Linked DNA regions of Homo sapiens: all the other regions are linked to region 1. Evidence: promoter capture Hi-C in 16 types of primary human blood cells and fetal thymus (Javierre and others, 2016). All regions are on one chromosome and are shown on one strand. Each heading gives the region's core, a stretch centred on a gene start or on the middle of the fragment in contact. The rest is flanking DNA. Distances are from core to core; before and after follow the strand shown. Region 1 holds the start of ARHGAP24 (Rho GTPase activating protein 24). Region 2 has its middle 200 kb from the start of WDFY3. Region 3 has its middle 160 kb from the start of WDFY3. Region 4 overlaps ARHGAP24 (Rho GTPase activating protein 24). Region 5 has its middle 220 kb from the start of WDFY3.

What was found. The method cuts DNA at HindIII sites, captures the fragments that hold promoters and counts their contacts. A CHiCAGO score of 5 or more calls a contact.
Region 2: a fragment that was not itself captured here is called in contact with the fragment with the promoter of ARHGAP24 in region 1 in 2 of 17 cell types (total B cells and naive B cells); the score reaches 6.0 in total B cells.
Region 3: a fragment that was not itself captured here is called in contact with the fragment with the promoter of ARHGAP24 in region 1 in 1 of 17 cell types (total B cells); the score reaches 5.8 in total B cells.
Region 4: a contact is called between a fragment that was not itself captured here and the fragment with the promoter of ARHGAP24 in region 1, in 3 of 17 cell types (total B cells, naive B cells and monocytes). The highest score is 22.7, in total B cells.
Region 5: a contact is called between a fragment that was not itself captured here and the fragment with the promoter of ARHGAP24 in region 1, in 2 of 17 cell types (naive B cells and total B cells). The highest score is 6.5, in naive B cells.

What each region holds. Positions count from the first base shown.
Region 1 is chr4:85,473,732-85,476,440 of GRCh38, reverse strand. ARHGAP24 (Rho GTPase activating protein 24) reads right to left here and starts at 1,291. Exons shown (of 10, transcript NM_001025616.3): 1 at 882-1,291. The HindIII fragment of the contact is 5,990 bases long and covers 1-2,001 here.
Region 2 is chr4:85,164,423-85,167,122 of GRCh38, reverse strand. No RefSeq gene overlaps it. Among named protein-coding and RNA genes, the nearest start is that of WDFY3, 200 kb to the right of the region's middle. RefSeq lists an enhancer at 1-467. The HindIII fragment of the contact is 657 bases long and covers 1,065-1,721 here.
Region 3 is chr4:85,122,012-85,124,852 of GRCh38, reverse strand. No RefSeq gene overlaps it. Among named protein-coding and RNA genes, the nearest start is that of WDFY3, 160 kb to the right of the region's middle. The HindIII fragment of the contact is 2,725 bases long and covers 97-2,821 here.
Region 4 is chr4:85,776,659-85,779,358 of GRCh38, reverse strand. All of the region lies in intron 3 of ARHGAP24 (Rho GTPase activating protein 24), which reads right to left. Among named protein-coding and RNA genes, the nearest start is that of MIR4451, 56 kb to the right of the region's middle. The HindIII fragment of the contact is 2,310 bases long and covers 151-2,460 here.
Region 5 is chr4:85,182,242-85,185,011 of GRCh38, reverse strand. No RefSeq gene overlaps it. Among named protein-coding and RNA genes, the nearest start is that of WDFY3, 220 kb to the right of the region's middle. The HindIII fragment of the contact is 2,375 bases long and covers 166-2,540 here.

The DNA.
Region 1 (2,709 bases), core at 42-2,541:
AAGGTTAAAAAAAGAGTAACATAAAATGTGCTGGAAACAGAAATTACTTGGAGAAATTACTTGTTTAATTCAAATGAATTAAACGAGATATAGTCTACAAAGAAGTCTGGGCTCCCTATTACTGGTTGATGCTGAAAATCTATCTAAGGAATTCAGAGTAACATTGTCTCCCTTCTATTTGGGTACGTATAAAATAAATGTAGTCTTAAGTATTTTCTAAAAACGAGACCATATTACATGTTTATCATTAAATGTTATTTTTAAAAACATTTGGACAAAATCTTTTGAGTGGCTTCAAATTCACCAAAGATTCCCTAACGTTTTGTGTTTACAAATATATGTATATATTTTATAATATATATTTCTAATATGTAATATATTTATAAATATTTTAAAACATATTTTATACATATAAAATATATATTTTTGCAAATATATATGCTTATTATTAAAACCTATCTTTGTGCGCCTGTTACATAGGGAACTCCTATAAGATACTAGAGGAAACAAACAAGGGGAAGGGGAGGATGGATACCAAGAGAGGAAATTGAATTGTACAAAGGGTTTTTATTAATTCCATCTATTTTTAAAGCCAGAAAGACATACTACCAGCTTGCTGTCTCCCGGCACAAACATGCGCGCGCGCGCACACACACACACAAACACAGACAGGCTACATCAGCACGGGATTCCTGCGATCCCTCCCCGCCCCCCGCAGCCCCCTCCCCGCCCCCCGCAGCCCCCTCCCCGCCCCCCGCAGCCCCCTCCCCGCCCCCCGCAGCCCCCTCCCCGCCCCCCGCAGCCCCCTCCCCTGGCGCAGGCAGCCGCGTCCGTCCTTCCCGCGGTAGCTCCGCGCACTTCCTCGCGACCGCATCACCTACCTTGCTGGGAGCTCAAGACAGATGCCGGACAGGGCTGCTGCTCCGAAGGAAAAGGCTCCCAGGACCAGCAGTAAGAAAACGCAAAGAAAAAAAGGTGGTAGTGAGGCTCCTTTACTTTCCACAACAAGGGGAAGTGTTGAACTCTATGCACTGGGCTGCTCCGCAGCGCGGGTTTCGGAGGAAATAGGCGGCCGAGAGAGCTGCGCCTGCGATGGGAAGTTGGGGGGATTCCCCCAGCCACCCAGCCACCCCCGCCAGGCTCCTCTCTGGTCCCCGCCGCAGCCTTGACAGCTCCCCTGGTCTCCGAGCCCCTCCAGAGCCCTGCTGGTTTCCACCCGGAGCTGGGCTGTGTTGCCACATGCACTTGAGAAATCCTAGCAGTTGCGCAAAGAGTCCCAGAAGTTAGAAAGGGTGATTGTGTGTGAATGTGTAAATATACAGTACAAGAGGCTGGAACAACTGAGTGGGGCCAACCCTCAGACACAGCTCGAGGTTTCAGATTTCATTTGGCAACTGGTAGCTTCACAGGACTCGAGCCGCACTACAGGGGAGGCCGGCAGGAGCCCCGCCCTCCCAAAGCCTGGGTTATCTGAGAGCTGGAGCTACACCGCCTGGCGCCACTGACAGAATGCGCCCTGCCTGGTTCCTCCGCATCTGGCATCGCTCGTTCCTTTCAAGTGCATCATAGATACTTGTTGGCCACAGATCTGGGGCTGTGGGCGCGAGAAGGTTGGTGAATACATGTCTCCTGCCCTCAAGGAGCTCTGCATTTCATTGGCCAAACCCCATACACCGGTTTTACTTGCTTCTACCAACTCTGTCTCGCTAACATTTTATTTCTCCAATTAGAATTACCTGGGCCATTAAAGCAATATTCCTGGAAATGCACATTTAGATGGATGCTCTCTAACTAGAGCCTTAGAGAAATTCAAAGTATAATTACTTTCTTACGGTGGTGTAAGAACTCTCGGAGTTACACAATATGGGACAAAAGGACAAACTAGTAAACATTGTTTTGATGCAGGCCGTCTCTTCCCACCATCACCACAATGTCTGTTTCAAATTGTGATCTTACAGTTCTGGTTACCTGGCATGCTGAGTCAAATTATTTCAAAAAGCTTTGTAAAGATCTCTGTTTTAGAAACCCACTTACAGTGGATCAGTCATGCAATCCTAGCACTTTGGAAGGCTGAGGCAGGAGGATCGCTTGAGCCCAGGGGTTTCAGACCAAAATTGGCAACATAATGAGACTCCTGTCTCTATAAAAAAAAAATTAAAAAAATAAAAAAAAAGTTGGGCGTGGCGGCGTATGTCTGTAGTCCCAGCTACTCAGGAGGCTGAAGCGGGAAAATCCCTTGAGCCCAGGAGGTCAAGGCTGCAGTGAGCTATAATTGTGCCAGCGCACTCCAGCCTAGGTGACGGAGTGACACCCCCGTCTCGAACAATTACTACTGCTACTACTAATAAAAGAAACTCTCTTTTAGAAATCATCACCAGATATCCTTAAGACACAGAATGGGGGTGTCCTCACTAGGGATCTCCAGTGAGAGAGGGATATGGAAGAAGAGCAAATGTTTAGTTTTAGAAACACCAAAAATAAAAGGCTGAGTGGACACTGATATGTTTTTCCTTTTTGTCCTCTTTCTCCAAGTTCTTGGAGAAACGAATCTACCCCATCCCATGCTGAGGTCCTACTATAAACTTGATTTTCTGGTGGGAGAATTCTCAGCCCTTTAATGAATCAAATTAATTTGTGTGGGGAAAAAATTGCGTTTCATATTTCATTTTAAAAATATGTATGGAATTCCTAAGCTAGAAGTAATGTAGC
Region 2 (2,700 bases), core at 144-2,643, 310 kb after region 1:
CTCCAACATACATGACAATGACAATCATAAAATGCAATGCAAGATGGTATTTACACCTAAGGAAAGAAAAAGAAAGGAAGAAGAAAACAGGATGAGGAAGAAATAAGCAACGATTCAACAGTGACCACTATAATTTATTTCATCAAAAGTACTGAGGCAAAGATGGCCAAACAGGAACAGCTCTGGTCTACAGCTCCCAGCAAGATCAACACAAAAGGTGGGTGATTTCTGCATCTCCAACTGAGGTACCTGGTTCATCTCATTGGGACTGGTTGGACAGTGGGTGCAGCCCATGGCGGGTGAGCCAAAGCAGGGCAGGGCATCGCCTCACCCAGGAAGTGCAAGGGGTCAGGAGATTTCCCTTTCCTAGACAAGGGAAGCTGTGAGAGACTATACTAGGAGGACAGTACACTCCTGCCCAGATACTGCACTTTTCCCACAGTCTTCACAACTGGCAGACCAGGAGATTCCCTCTGGTGCTTGGCTCAGTGGGTCTCACACCCACGGAACCCAGCAAGCTAAGATCCATTGGCTTGAAATGCTCGTTGCTTGTGTGGCAGTCTGAGATTGACCTGGGACGCTCAAGCTTGGTGGGGGAGGGGTGTCTGCCATTGCTGAGGCTTGAGTAGGCAGTTTTATGATCACAGTGTAAACAAAGCCACTGGGAAATTTGAACTGGGCAGGGCCCACCACAGCTTAGCAAGGCCAACTGCTTCTCTAGATTCCACCTCTGTGAGCAGGGCATCTCTGAAGAAAAGTCAGCAGCCCCAGTCAGGGACTTATAGAAAAAAACTCCCATCTCTCTGGGACAGAGCACCCGGGGTAAGGGGCAGCTGTGGGAGTAGCTTCAGCACACTTAAATGTCCCTGCCTGACAGCTCTGAAGAAAGCAGTGATCCTCCCAGCAGAGCGTTCGAGCTCCGATAACAGACAGACTGCCTCCTCAAGTGGGTCCCTGACCCCCCATGTAGCTGGACTGGGAGACACTTCCTAGTGGGGGCTGATAGACACCTCATACAGGAGAGCTCTGGCTGGCATCTGTGGGTGCCCCTCTGGGACAAAGCTTCCAGAGGAAGGATCAGGCAGCAATAGTTGCTGTTGTGCAGCCTCTGCTGGTGATACCCAGGTAAACCAGGTCTGGAGTGGACCTCCAGCAAACTCCTTCAGACATGCAGCTGAGGGGCCTGACTGTTAGAAGGAAAACTAACAAACAAAAAGGAATACCATCAACATCAACAAAACGGACATAAAAATCAAAACCCCACCAGTAGGTCACCAACATCAAAGACCAAAGGTAGATAAAACCACAAAGATGGGTAGAAACCAGTGAATAAAGACTAAAAATTCCAAAAACCACAATGCCTCTTCTCTCCAAAGGATCACAACTCCTTGCCAGCAAGGGAAAAAAACTGGATGGAGACTGAGTTAGACGAATTGACAGAAGTAGGCTTCAGAAGCTGAGTAATAACAAACTCCTCTGAGCTAAAGGAGCATGTTCTAATCCAATGCAAGAAAGCTAAAAACCTTGAAAAAAGGTTAGATGAATTGCTAACTGGAATAACCAGTGTAGCAATGAATATAAACGACCTGATGGAGATGAAAAATGCAGCACAACAACTTCGTGAAGCATACACAAGTTCCAATAGCTGAATTGATCAAGTGGAAGAAACGATTATCAGTGATTGAAGACCAACGTAATGAAATAGAGCAAGAAGACAAGCTTAGAGAAAAAAGAGTGAAAAAAAAATGAACAAAGCCTTCAAGAAATATGGGACTAAGAGAAAAGACCAAATCTACATTTGATTGATATACCTGAAAGTGACGGGGAGAATGGAACCAAGCTGGAAAATACTCTTCAGGATAATATCCAGGAGAACTTCCCCCAACCTAGCAGGGCAGGCCAACACTCAAACTCAGGAAATACAGAGAACACCACAAAGATATTCCTCAAGAAGAGTAACCCCAAGACACATAATTGTCAGATTCACCAAGGTTGAAAAGAAGGAAAAAATGTTAAGGGCAGCCAGAGAAAAAGGTTGGGTTACCCACAAAGGGAAGCCCATCAGAATAACAGTGGATCGCTCTGCAGAAACCCTATCAGCCAGAAGAGAGAGGGGGCCAATATTCAACATTCTTAAAGAAAAAAATTATCAACCCAGAATTTCATATCCAGCCAAACTAAGCTTCATAAGCGAAGGGAAATAAAATCATTTACAGACAAGCAAATGCTGAGAGATTTTGTCACCACCAGGCCTGCCATACAAGAGCTCCCAAAGGAAGCACTAAATATGGAAAGGAAAAACCAGTACCAGCCACTGCAAAAACATGCCAAATTTTAAAGACTATCAACGTTATGAAGAAACTGCATCAACAAACGAGCAAAATAACCAGCTAGCATCATAATGACAGGATCAAATTCACACATAACAATATTAACCTTAAATGTAAATGGGCAAAATGCCTCAGTTAAAAGACACAGACTAGCAAATTGGATAAAGAGTCAAGACCCATCAATGTGCTGTATTCAGGAGACCCATCTCATATGCAAAGATACATACGCTCAAAATAAAGGGATGGAGGAAGATTTACCAAGCAAATGGAAAGCCCAAAAAAGCAGGGATTGCAGTCCTAGTCTCTGATAAAACAGACTTTAAACCAACAAAGGTCAAAAGAGACAAAGAAGGGTATTACATAATGGTAA
Region 3 (2,841 bases), core at 210-2,709, 350 kb after region 1:
AGATGGCTTTTATTCCCCAAAGACTTCATGACCAAAGACCCAAATGCAAATGCAACAAAAACCAAGATCAACAGATAGGGCTTAATTTAAAAAGCTTCTGCACAGCAAAAGAAGCAATCAGCAGAGTTAACAGACAACCCACAGAGTAGGAGAAAATCTTCACAGTCTATACATCTGACAAAGGAATACTATTCAGAATCTACAAAGAACTCAAACAAATCAGCAAGAAAAAAAACAATCCCATCAAAAAAAAAGTGGGCTGAGGACATGAGTAGACAATTCTCAAAAGAAGATATACAAATGACCAAAAAGCATGTGGGAAAATGCTCAACATTACTAATTATCAGGGAAATGCAAATCAAAGCCACAATGTGATACCACATTACTCCTGCAAAACTGGTCATAATCAAAAATTCAAAAAATAGATGTTGGCATGGATGTGGTGAAAAGGGAATACTGTTACATTTTGGTTGGGAATGAAAACTAGTACAACCATTATGGAAAACAGTGTGGAGATTCCTTAAAGAACTAAAAGTAGATATATTATTTAATCCAGCAATTCCACTACTTGGTATCTACCCAGAGAAAAAGAAGCATTATATAAAAAAAAAACTTGCACTTGCATGTTTATAGCAGCACAATTCACAATTGCAAAAATATGGAACAAGCCCAAATGTCCATCAATCCACAAGTAGATAAAGAAAATGTGGTATGTATATGTGTGTGTGTGTGTGTGTGTGTGTGTGTGTGTGTCATGGAATACTACTCAGCCACAAAAAAGAATAAGATAATGGCATTCACAGCAACCTGGATGGAATTGGAGACCATTATTTTAAGCGAAGTAACTCAGGAGTGGAAAACCAAACATCATATGTTCTCACTCATAAGTAGGAGGTAAGCTATAAAGGCACAAAGACATAAGAATAATACAATGGACTTTGGAGACTTGGGGGAAAGAGTGGGAGTGGGGTGAAGGATAAAAGACTACACACTGGGTACAGTGTATACTGCTTGGGTGATGGGTGCACCAAAATCTCAGAAATCACCACTGAAGAATTTACTCATGTAACCAAACACTATCTGTTCCCCAAAAACCTATTGAATTAAAAAAGAAGGTTAATAGGACCTTAGAATGTACATTTATGTAACAACTGCAGCAATATTACCTTTCAACTGAAATTAGTACTTTGGTTCTTCTGGACCACCACTGAGGGAAGAAACTGGCTATGAATTGCTCATAAATTCATCAGTACAAAATAAAGTCTTGAAAGTCTATTTTTGGTCACAGCACTTGCATTTTCAGTAGCCACTAGATGAGTGCTTGGCCCTCTATTAAAGTATGATTTTAAATAGATATATATACCTAGTATGTATCCATAAAAATTAAAAATTAAATTTAAAAAGAATTAAAAATAGAGAAATGAATTACCAAATAGATGAGAAGACTATGAACCAGCCAATTATCTTTATTATTATTTACTTTTAAAAACTTTCCCTAAGCTGCAAAGGTTACTAAAAAAAATTCACTTTACTGCACCATAAGCACCGGTATCATATGTGAATTTCATTACAAAATTATAATATGAATTGTTATGATGTAAATACACCTAATTTAACATTGGGCATATACAGATCCTTGATATAAAAGAAGCCAAAAGACTTGGAATTTTTCTGTTCCCTCATGCGGCAGACAGAACCACCCTGTGTCAGATCCAGAAAGAAACCAAATGGTTTGGTAGTCCAACCTAGTGGTAGGAGGAGTAGTACTACCAGGAGTAATACTAGTAGTAGTATTATTGTCTAGTGTTTAGTATAAAAGTATTATATGCTACTCTCCATAGGAAACCATCAGCAATCAATTTTTTGTGCATCTTGCCAATTTTATATAGAAATGTATATAGCTTTTTTTTTTTACACAAATGAGATTATACCATAAGTACTCTTTGTAATCCTCTATATAAAGTAAAACACATCTGGCTTTCCATTTTTCTGGATCCAAATAAAAATGACTAAGATAACATCATAGTTTAAAATTATATACATTCAGAGGCTAAGTGACATCTCCCTGCCATTAAAATTTCATATTAATAGTTTAGTTCAGGACTAGTCGCTCTTACTCAATTTATCTTACAATGTCACTTACCCATGCTTTCTGCATCTTTTATTTCAACTAGTTAATTTTCTGGATGCTGGTTGTGACCTTAAAATTAATGCAATTAAATTTAATTTTGTTTGATTTTTTTCATGCTTGGAGATGGACCAATTTCTAGTCTGTCATCATTCTTTGGAATGCAGGTCCTGCCATCCAACTGAGCACTCTCCCCTTAAGTTTTGGACCATGTGTGAGTATGCTGCACATATCCTGACATGGCACATTTTGCTTATGCATGACGACTGGATTCCTCAGAACACTAGAAACACAGCTCAAATGTCACAAAAATAGAATCTTACAAAGTGTGACTATAAAGTAATATATTGAGTTTTGGCAATGTAACTGGAAAACCTGTGTAGCCTCTCCAGATTTGTGCTTTTGAATGTATTTGTTCTTACAGGTTTGCATTAAAGTTATTCAAATTAACTGAATATGTATACCTCATTTATTGATGACCCAGTCAACCAACATGTCATTATTAAGAGACAACCTACTGGGTACTGTACTAGTAACTGTGAAGTCTGACACTTGGTAAGTAAAACATTAATAAATAAAAGACAAGATCTTTGTTTGAGCCCAGCCAAGGTGGGAACAAAGGCTGTTAACATTTGGATACAATTCAAGAGGAGAAATCAGACCACTGTCTATGAGCACAGAGCTATCAAAGCTTCTTGAAAGCGATTACAAGA
Region 4 (2,700 bases), core at 56-2,555, 300 kb before region 1:
AAGATTCATTAAGCTCCCCCTCCTGCCCAGTCAAGAACATTCTGTACATTTTGTAATGCTAAAGTATATTTATCTTTATCCAACACAAGCAATAAAACACAAAAACCACACATGACAAGATACAACAAAGAAACAAACCTAAACTAAGCTTTAAAATAAAACAACAGCAACAATCATCTGGTTCCTAAAAACACTAACAAAACAAAGCAAAATCCGAGTAGTTTCAAATATCAACAGCCAGAAAATAATACAGTTAAAAAGCTAAAATATTTTCAAGGGTATATTTTCTCTCAAAATAGAGGTGAAGAGGGAGGAAAAAAAGGTCAAATGACCACTAAATACTTGTCCCCAAAACAAATGAACCCTGAAGATTTAAATGAGTAAAAACAGTACCTTATAAGTCACTGGTCTGGTCTACGCACAGCTGTTCCCAGTGCCGACTCTTGTTTAACTGTCCACTGCCTTCAGTTTAAAGTTAATTCTTTTGGCAAAAAAGTACAGAGCTTGTCTGGAAAATGCTGTTTGGACACAAACCATTCCTTTCAAAGCGGTGGTAGCTATATTTAAGTTTTCTTGTAGAAGGGGATATAAACTCTTCCTGTAGCTAATTTTCTTTCTCCTCCTTCTCAGACTTAGTCAGTATCCTCCCATCCCATATATTGAAGAAAGAGACAGAGAGGGGAAAAAAAACCTACAAGGAAATATACCTTAAATAATGTAGTATTTGAGCATTTAGAAACAAAACAAAACAAAATAAGAAATAGGAATCATAGAAAGCTCATCAGGACCTTAAATATAATTTAGCCGGGTGAACCCATTTTGTAGATAAGGGAAGTGAAACCCAGAGAAAAATATGATTTGTATAAGGTCACTCACACGGCTAGTTAGTGCCACAGTTAACAAATAACCAGGTTTCACAACTCCTGCTTCAATGCTTTTTCCACTACACTAACATACCTGAGGGGAAATAGTTTGCCTTTTCCTCTATATCCTTGCATAATAAGCAAAGGAATTGGCAGGGAGCAGTAACACAATTAGGATGTGAGAACTGTCTCAGAGAAAACATTTCCTTTGGATTTAAAATCCTTAATATTGAAACTTTCCCTTTAATCTCCAATTTCTTTGTATATTAGGAAATAATCTTTTCCTTTGCTGATTGTCCAGAATATTTTTACAACTCAGGAGCTGCCATGTTTCAAGGGATGCTAACATTTATTAGTCCTTACAGAGTACTGCTTCAGTAAGGCATGGTGCTGTGACAGGTGGCAGAATAAGTGTTCTACCTAGTATCAGTGATACTACTCCACGGCTCTTAAACTAGACACACATTTGCTATTATCACAAATCCCCACTTTCAATCTATCAAGATTTTTTGAATACACACATTTGGTTTTGATTATTGTTGATTGTATAATTTGTTAAATAAAACAGAGAAGCAACATAACAATTTTCATTGGTGTCTTTCATGTATTTCCTATTTATTGGTGAATAAATTATGTTTTTCTAACTGAAAGAGTGATGTGCTTATTATAATAATTTTTAAAATTACCTTTTTGAAATGTATTCATTCATTCATTCACTTATTTAACAAATATTTATCGAACATTCATAAGATCTATCTCATCCCTCCCACGTGAAATAGTGTAACAGACAAGCAATAGCTTCCTTAGAAAAGTAGGGAATTTTCAAATAAAATCAAAGGGTTTGCATGGGAAGTAAGGTCAATTCTCTATGACTACTTCTGTATTCATTCTCACACTTCAAACATGTGTCCTTGATTTCTTTATATCCTATCGATTGGGTTGCTCCAATCTTAAAACATCCTGCCCAGATCAAGTAAACCAAAATATGAAGTGGCCCACACTGAAATCACTCTGGCCACTATTAATCTTTCCATTTGATCTGGCTCCTTAAATTTTAAAGCAAAATCTTCTTTACACTTTGCAATTCCAAGACACAATGAGAAATGCTCAGATCATTCAAGGCCTATTTTCAAACTGTTACCTATTCTTTAATTCAGAAATGCACTGTTTGGTTTTAATATTTCTCGTCTACTTTTAAGGCATCTACTCTTGCCCTGTTCTTTGGCAGGAAGCAGTATGCTTATGACCAAATAATTATAAAATGTAATTAATATTTAAAATGACAATTAGATTTTCTGGAACACATTTTCCAAAATGTTGAGAAATTAATGGGTATGATAGCACTTTTCTAATGCTGACAAATAAGCAACTGAGATTCAAAACAGAAATGTTGAGAAAGAAATTTTGGAAAACCATGGTTTTTGACACAATGACAGCATCTTATTTTCCTTTTATTCTCATTTGATTATGTCTGTTTGAGCCCTATGCAAAGGTTAAGCAACATTAATATGTCAAATGTGACAAGAGTTGGACACATTGATACATATTACTTGCATTTGCTAAAAATATTCTGTATTTTCCTTTTACTTCTTAAGCTTTACTTTCGATATTGACAGTTTTACCTTTAGTCCATTAGAAAGAGCAGGAAGGAAATATGAGTAAGACCTTGTAAGGTAATAGGCCTTGAGGAGACATAGAGTTTTACATGGAATGAGTCAAGGTGATTCAGAGGGTTAAATGGCTGCAGGAAGGAAGGAAAGAGTGAAGAGAAGTCACAGATTGTTTAGAACAGGAGTGGGCTGAGCCATAGACAATAGATTATGGGTATTGAATTCAA
Region 5 (2,770 bases), core at 104-2,603, 290 kb after region 1:
AGGTGCAAGGTAAATTTTACAATGCAGTTGAGGCTTCTGCAGAGACAAAATCAAAACAATTAAGGGTAGACATCCATAGTGCAGAATATTCTTGACTCCCAAGAAAAACAGCTTCTCCTGAAGACTAGCTCACAAAGATTACAAACCACAAAAGGAAATAAAGCTTTTTGAAGGAGTCAGCTAAAGCAATGGAGGAATGTATACCCCAAAACTGAACATAGCAATCTCTAAAAGAGAAATTGAAGCTATGAGGCAAGAAAAGAAAGATAGGGAAAAATATACAATGATTTGTATATTCTAAAAACAATTATAAACTAACCCTTAGATGTTATGAGATTCCTTACTGAAAGAAGTTTATATTCATATATTTAAAGAATATCCAATGTATCAACATATTTATTTATAATAATTATATTATCATGATAAAATTTTAATTAAAAGTATCTAAAAGTACATGTAAAGTTATTAAAGAAAAGCTGTCAAAGGTAAAATTATCATAAATTTATTTCAAATAAATTATATATCCAATCATAAAATATGTGCATCAGAGTTGTTGGTAAATAGAGTTATGGTATTAAATTCTAGAACTCTGTGGCCCACAACCATTTTATTTTGAAAATATTGTGATTGATTAAATAATTATTTATTCTTATAATCACAAAAATACACAGTAGAAATTAAATTATAATGCTAAAGCAGGACACTTATCTTTGCTTTTCTCTAACTCCAAGAGGTTTCTCAACTTCTTAAAATGTTAGGAAAGTCTTTCTCTAAAATTTGATGATGACTATCTGTCCAGTAATGTCTTATTTGCTATATTTTTCCCCAAGAAGCCAAGTGATATCTCATGCAAACACAACTCTTGTGACTTTATGTTTATTGTGTGTGTGTGTTTATCCAGTATTGCTAGAGAGTATGTGCTAATCTTTTTAACATTAAACTTAAATTATCAAATATAAGCAAGCATTAATTATAGACCAAAAGGCATACGATACATGAGAATTTTTCTTTAAAATTGAAAGACATTCAGCAAATGTTGGAAATGGATAGCCACATGCAAAAAAATGAAGCTGGACCCTTTCCTTCAACCATTTACAAAAAGTAACTCAAACTGAATTAAAAACTCAATGTAAGAATGAAAACTATAAAACTAGTAGAAGAAAAAACAGAGCAAAATCTTCATATCATTGTGTTTGGCAATGATTTCTTGAGAGACACCAAAAGCACAGGCAACAAGTGAAACAATAAATGAATAAACGTCATCAAAATTAAAAATTTTTGTGCATCAAGGGACACCATCAATAGAGTGAAATGACAGTCTACCGAATGGGAGAAAAATATTTGCAAATTATATATCTGATAAGGGATCAACATCCAGAATATATAAAGAACTCCAACTCAACAACAAAAAAAACCCTGATTTTAAAATGGGCAAAAGACTTGAATGGACGTTTATCCAAAGAAGATATACAAAGGGCCAATAAACACATGAAAATATGTTCAATATCACTAATCATTAAGGAAATGTAAATCAAAACCATAGTGAGATCTCACTTCACATTAATTAGAATAGCTATTATCAAAAAGAGGACAATAACTTGGGGAGGATGTGCAGAAATTGGAACCCTTGTGTATTGCTGGTAGGAAGGTGAAATGGTGCAGCCACTATGGACAATGATATGGTTGCTCCTCAAAGAATTAAAAATAGAATTACTATATGACCCTGTAGTTCCACATCTGAGAATATACTCAAAAGAATTAAAGCAGGGACTTGAACAGATATTTGTATACCCATGTTCATGGCAGCATTACGTATTTATAATAGCCAAAAGGTGGAAACTAACTAACTATCCATCAACCATCAACAGAAGAATGGATAAGGAAAATATGGGATATACATATGATGAAATATTATTCAAAGTTAAAAATGAAGGAAATTCTGACACGTGCTATAACTTGGAGGAACTTTGAAAACATCATGCTACGTGAAATAAGCCATTCATAAAAGAACAAATATTGTATTATTCTACTTATATGAGGCACCTAAAGTAGTCAAATTTATAGAGATGGAAAGTAGAATGGTGTTTGCCAGGGGCTAGGGAAAGAAGCAATAGGAACTTAGTGCATAGAGGTACAGTTTCAGTTGGGGAAGATGAAAAAGTTCTGAAGATGAATGGTGATAATGGTTGCACAATAACATGAATGTACTTAATGGTATAGAGCCATACGCTTTCACATGGTTAAGACAGTAAATTTCATTTATGTATATTTAACCACAATTTTTAATGAAAAATATATTTTTAACACACATCAAAAATGTAACTGCAGTATTGTTAGGATTGAAGTAATAAATGATTATTTTTGCCATGATTTATAATACCACCAGGGCTATGGCAATGGATACATTTTCTATTCTTCTATCCTCCCACACAAACTCTGCAACCTGTGAAATAATCTGAAGGTGAAAAGCTGTTTGACATAAAAGAGGCTTAAATTTGCAATCCTTATCCAGTGGAAGTTTGAATTTGTCCTTCAAAGCTTTAACATCTTGCATACTATTTGCCACCTAATGTACATTCTTGTGACATACTTTCCCAAAAATAGATTAATTTCATCTTTATTGGGTGAACTATCCTTCTTCTAAGAAATTACATTATCAGCACTTGCAGCCTCTGTCTTCACTTTGATGTTGTGCACATTCAAACAGGCCTTGAACCTATAGAACTCGCTGTAATCTAAAGTAATAATCTTGTCAATCTCATTTTCACCA